Regions from separate parts of the Homo sapiens genome. Here region 2 is linked to region 1. The links are contacts of gene promoters, found by promoter capture Hi-C in blood cells and fetal thymus (Javierre and others, 2016). All regions are on one chromosome and are shown on one strand. Each heading gives the region's core, a stretch centred on a gene start or on the middle of the fragment in contact. The rest is flanking DNA. Distances are from core to core; before and after follow the strand shown.

Evidence for each region. Contacts are between HindIII fragments. The CHiCAGO score rates a contact against its expected background, and 5 or more counts as called.
Region 2: a fragment that was not itself captured here is called in contact with the fragment with the promoter of SLC16A12-AS1 in region 1 in 1 of 17 cell types (M0 macrophages); the score reaches 5.4 in M0 macrophages.

What each region holds. Positions count from the first base shown.
Region 1 is chr10:89,454,609-89,457,566 of GRCh38, reverse strand. SLC16A12-AS1 (SLC16A12 antisense RNA 1) reads right to left here and starts at 1,576. Exons shown (of 3, transcript NR_120614.1): 1 at 1,319-1,576. All of the region lies in intron 3 of SLC16A12 (solute carrier family 16 member 12), which reads left to right. The HindIII fragment of the contact is 4,427 bases long and covers 1-1,783 here.
Region 2 is chr10:89,572,467-89,575,424 of GRCh38, reverse strand. No RefSeq gene overlaps it. Among named protein-coding and RNA genes, the nearest start is that of MIR107, 19 kb to the left of the region's middle. The HindIII fragment of the contact is 2,050 bases long and covers 525-2,574 here.

The sequences.
Region 1 (2,958 bases), core at 327-2,826:
CACTGTCTTCTACAATGGTTGAACTAATCTATATTCCTGTGAATAGTGTAAAAGTGTTGCTATCTCTCTGCAGCCCTGCTAGCATCTGTTGTTTCTTGACTTTTTAATAATCACCATTCTGACTGGTGTGAGATTGTATCTCATTGGGGTTTTGATTTGCATTTTTCTAATGATCAGTGATGTTGAGCTTTTTTCATATGTTTGTTGGTTGCATAAATGTCTTCTTTTCAGAAGCATCTGTTCATGTCCTTTGCCCACTTTTTAATGGGGTTGTTTGTTTTTTTTCTTGTAAGTTTGTTTAAGTTCCTTGTAGATTCTGGATATTAGACCTTTGTCAGATGGATAGGTTGCAAAAATTTTTTCCCATTCTGTAGGTTGTCTGTTCACTCTGATGATAGTTTCTTTTGCTGTGCAGAAGCTCTTTAGTTTAATTAGATCCTATTTGTCAATTTTTGCATAGAAATACCATTTGACCCAGCAATCCCATTACGGGGTATATACCCAAAGGAATATAAATCATTCTATTATAATATAAAGATATATGCACACGTATGTTCAGTGCTGCCCTATTCACAATAGCAAAGACATGGAATCAACCCAAATGCCCATCAGTGATAGACTGGATAAAGAAAATGTGGTACATATATACCACTATGTATATACTATGCAGCCATAAAAAGGAATAAGATCATGTCCTTTGCAGGGACATGAATGGAGCTGGAAGCCATTAACCTCAGGAAGCTAACACAGGAACAGAAAACCAAACACTCTGTGTTCTCAATCATAAGTGGAAGCTGAACAATGAGAACACATGGACACAGGGAGGGGAGCAACACACACTGGGGCCTGTCGGGGTGGGGGAGTGGGAAGAGGGAGAGCATCAGGAAAAATAGCTAATGCATGCTGGGCTTAATACTTAGGTGATGGGTTGATAGGTGCAGCAAACCACCATGGCACACGTTTATCTATGTAACAAACCAGCACATCCTGCACAAGTAACCTAGAACTTAAAGTAAAATAAAATAAAATTTTAAAAAATGAAAAAAAAAGAATCATACTTCATGTGTAATTGCAGGCTATTCTGTTCATAAATTGGCCACTTGAGTTGGGTTGATACTTAAAAAGCAATGTTTGATTTAAATGTCCAAAACCCTGTCCCCCTCCAGGTCTGAGACCTATTTTTCTCTAAGTCTACTGGGTCCAAATTAACTTAGGTGCAATATATGTCTAGAATCCTATGGGATTGTAGAGTTCTTTTGAACTCTCTTAACAATAGTTGAATTCTTATAATAATTGCTAACTTTAACTGAGCACTTACATTGTGCATGTTGGCATTCTTCAAGCATTTTTTATGGATTAAATCATTTAATCCTCATAACACACAGCAGTTGAAGAACATGTCCAAGGTCCCATGGTTAGTAAGTGGCAGGACTTTTAGCCACTAGGCTGCAGTGCCCAGTAGATCAATTCTAGTATGCCAGATGTTGGCAGCACTCACTGTATAGGAGACAGAGAAAAATTTTACAGCAGAGTGGCAAGATTGAGACAGCAGTCATACTGGCCTCTGAGAGAAGGTATTTTTGAGAATGTCATTTCGTCACAGATGACACTTGGTGATACTTTGTTTCCACATTCTTATGAACAGAGCCTATGAACACTGAAAGTTGTTAGGAGTTGTTTGCTACTGCAGCATAATCCAGCCCATTCTGACTGATGCAGTCATGTTTACCAAAATGCTAATTTTAGAGATAAAGAAACTGAGGCCCTGAGGGATTAAGAAGCTTTATCAAAAACCTCAGTTACCTAGGGTGAGAACCAGGGATCAGGACCCTGCTTCACTGTAAAATATTCCAAAGAACAACCAAAATAATAAAAATAATTTCTGGAGTGAGATGCACACATGCTCCCAATAAAATTTCATTTATTTAATATCATGCCTGTGTTCAGAGGCATACATCATGAAACTACTACTCAAAAAGTTCTGTGGTGCTTTTCCCCTTTGAGAACAGATAAGTGATAAAATATTCTTCCCATATTTCATGAAAGTCACAATCATTCAGAAGCCTGTATGTGGTTATTAGAAAGTTTGCCTTTGTTAAGCCTGCTTACATGTTTAGACAAGAATTTCAGGTATTAATTTTGATTTCTGTATATCTAAAGTTTGATTCATATGACTGATTAAGTCATCTAAGAAAACCAGCAAGCAGAAATCAAAGTAACCTTTAAAAAAAGTGACAAGGGACAGACATGGTTACACTACTAAGTTCCCCAAAACAATTTAGTGAAAAAAAGAGATTATTATTTATAATTTGAAAATATCATCATCTGGGGGCCCTTTTCTCTTAGACATCATGTGATCCTCTTACATCTCCAGCTTCTGCATCTCCCTCTTGTGGATTTGTTTTCTCAGCTTGTAACACTCATTTTCTTCACATCCCTACTTTACCTCACCTAACCACATGTTCCTATATAGCTACCATCCAGTCTTCCTCCTTCTTCCCTTTCTCATTCATAGTTCTTGAAGTTGCTACTCAATCATTTTCACTTCCTTGTCTTCTAGTCACTTCCTCTACCAACTTTAATCCTTCCTCCTTTCCTTCCTTCCTGGCTTGCTTCCCTTGAAAAGTGTTTTATGAACACCAAGTATATGACAGGTACTATACTAGATATTTGGGATTCAGTGTGAGATAAGACAGACATGGTCTTTTCTGTCACAGGGTAACAGTCTAGTGAAGAATATAAACAAATGCAAAGGAAATTGCCACACAGTGTGATAAATGTCCAGCATGTAGTTGAAACACGTAAGAGTGGAATCAAGAGAGACTTGAGTGGTCAGGGAAACCTTCCTGGAGGAAGGTTATCTTGAGACTAAAGAATGTGGGAGGTTGGGAGAGCATGCTAGAAAAGAAAAAAAAAAGTGAAGGCTCAAAGATATTAAAAAAAAAATCATGGGTGATG
Region 2 (2,958 bases), core at 300-2,799, 120 kb before region 1:
TGCAGTTATGGCTTAAGGAGAGTTTAAAATTTTCTTTTAGGCTATAAGGCAACCAGAAAGAATTAGACAGTTTTTGTATTGGATTGTTCTTCTCTTTTCTCTTCCACTTCACTTTGTTCATGAAATTTGCTGTTGCTATTTTAGCAAAGTTCAACATCTAAAGAATTTATGCCATTTGGCTGCCATGACACAGATATAAATTATGTTTGTTTTACCACATTCCATAGTGAGGTAGGTGGTGTATGTCTTCTCATATATCTTGAAAATATATGTAAAATTTAATTTTAAAGACAACTTAAACTTTAAAATAATTATTTTTCATTAACTACTCAAGCTTATTTATCCTGACATATGAAATATATTTTCATGATATATTCTTAAACTTTTCTAGCATTCATATTCTCTATGCATATTTGGATGTGTACGTGTTTTTGGCATATTGGGGAAGAGATAGTTAATCCTGCAAGTTGTGGATCTAGAGTTTGTATTAAAATTATTATTTAGGAAGAGTACATTTTTAAGCTTAATATTTGAACAGTTTGTCAAATGTCACTTTATTTTAAATATAAGCCAAAAGTATTTTTGAATTAAGCTCCATAAGTGGGTTGAAATTTGGTAAATTAAACATTATTGTGAATTTTAAACATTTTTAGGCATTCTCCTTTGAGATTTGTTTACTATTTATATTGGCTTTATACATTTTAAAATGAGCAGTCACTTTTCTGTCTGTCTGTTCATGTGCCAACATCAACATTGAATTTATCAAGTAGTTATTTATACAATGTTTAGACAGGCAAAATGAAATGGAGAAGTGGGGCAATTATCTGTAGATCCCACCCACACAACTTTCAGCAACTCTAGAGAAAATGGTGTGGTTGTCCAGAACAATTGAGTTTTGTTGGCTGTGCCCTGAACATTTAGTCAATTACACAATTCTTCGTGTCCTTTAGCCTGTGTTTCTACAGTCCCTGTCTGACCTCAGCTGCTCATGGTAGTCTTCTGTGGTCCTTAATTAACTATGAAGATTATCTCAGCAAAATCAAGCTGTAGGGGTCTTTGTCCATGGAATGTTAAGGACCATTTCATCTATGGCATAATCCATTTTAATGGCCATAGAGAGAGATTTTATGAAGATATAGCCACACTTAGAAATTAACTGCCTGGCGCGGTGGCTCACGCCTGTAATCCCAGCACTTTGGGAGGCCGAGGCGGGAGGATCACGAGGTCGGGAGATTGAGACCATCCTGGCTAACACGGTGAAACCCCATCTCTAACTAAAAATACAAAAAAAAATTAGCCAGGTGTGGTGGCGGGTGCCTGTAGTCCCAGCTACTCAGGAGGCTGAGACAGGAGAATGGCGTGAACCCAGGAGCAGTGAGCTGAGATCGCACCACTGCACTCCAGCCTGGGTGACAGAGCAAGACTCCGTCTCAGAAAAAAGAAAAAAAAGAAAAAGAAATGAGAAATTAACACTTTAAAAAAGGTATATAGTGTTAGGATTTGAAGTTTTAAAATAAAACACCATGGCATGCATAGTTTTTGGAAGCCAAACAAATTCTAAATACACTGGTATTCAAACTTTTAAGATGTAGAGATTTAGTAATTCATTAGTATTAATTATTGAATAATTGCTACTTATGTTTTAGTGTCAGTTTTTATTCATTGATCCAGTCCTGCAGAAGAGACTTTGGAAGCATTAACTGCATCTTGCATTTCAACTCAGGAGAAGTTCATTTTAATTACTAAGGAGTAGTTGCAAAATAGGTTCAAGGCCACTCCCAAAATAAACCTACCAAGTTTGAGAAGTGAAAATTACACTTTTTGCTATTATTCTAATTTTTAAACTTCTAAATAAATGTTGAACAACTATTTGGAGAATATCAGTAAAAAAGGTGCCAAATTATTAACCTGCATTGAACTTTCACAAGTTCTGACCTGGCACTGGATGGAGAGGTAGAGCTTGGACCAGAAGTGACCTTTAATATCCTTCCCAACCCAGAGCTTCTGTGAGTGTGAGAACTGGGCCTTGACCCTGCCCTTTACAAAGCTACCATATGGGGTCCCGGCGCAGTGACTCACGCCTGTAATCCCAGCACTTTGGGAGGCTGAGGTGGGCGGATCACGAGGTCAGGAGATTCAGACCAGGCTGGCTAACACGGTGAAACCCCGTCTCTACTGAAAACACAAAAAAATTAGCCAGGCGTGGTGGCAGGTGCCTATAGTCCCAGCTCCTTGCAAGGCTGAGGCAGGAGAATGGCGTGAGGCCAGGAGGCAGAGCTTGCAGTGAGCCAAGATTGTGCCACTGCACTCCAGCCTGGGCGACAGAGCGAGACTCTGTCTCAAAAACAAACAAGCAAACAAACAAAAACAAAACAAAACAGAACAAAAAAAAAGCTACCATGTGGGAATAAAAGATGTTTCCAGGAAAGAGAGTCCACAACAATAATGACAGCTCTGATGGATTAAGCCTTTCATATGCTTGGCACTCCCTGTACCTAATCTCCATTAATCCACTCAGATGATGAATAACGTGGGGATTCTTATCTTCATTTTACTGGAGAAAAGACTGAAGCTTGAAGAGGCAAAGGAACATGCCAAGAGCATGCCATGAACAAATCGTCAAGAATCCTGAAGTGGCTTTCTGGGAAAAATCAAGGCTTTTTTGGGACTAAATGATCCAGAGATTTGCTTCCATTTTCTAAAAGGGATTGTGTATAGAGGCAATGTCTGAATGTGTATCTATCACCTTTATCAGTCATATTATTGAAATTTCTGCATACTCAGGCTTAAAATTGCACATTGGCTGGTCTGAAGTTCTAGCTCAAGTGCCTTCCTCCTACTGCTATTCAGTTAGTTAATATTCTTTGGCCAGGTGTGGTGGCTCACGCCTATATTCCCAGCACTTTGGGAGGCCGATACGGGTGGATCACCTGAGGTCAAGAGTTCAAGACCAGCCTG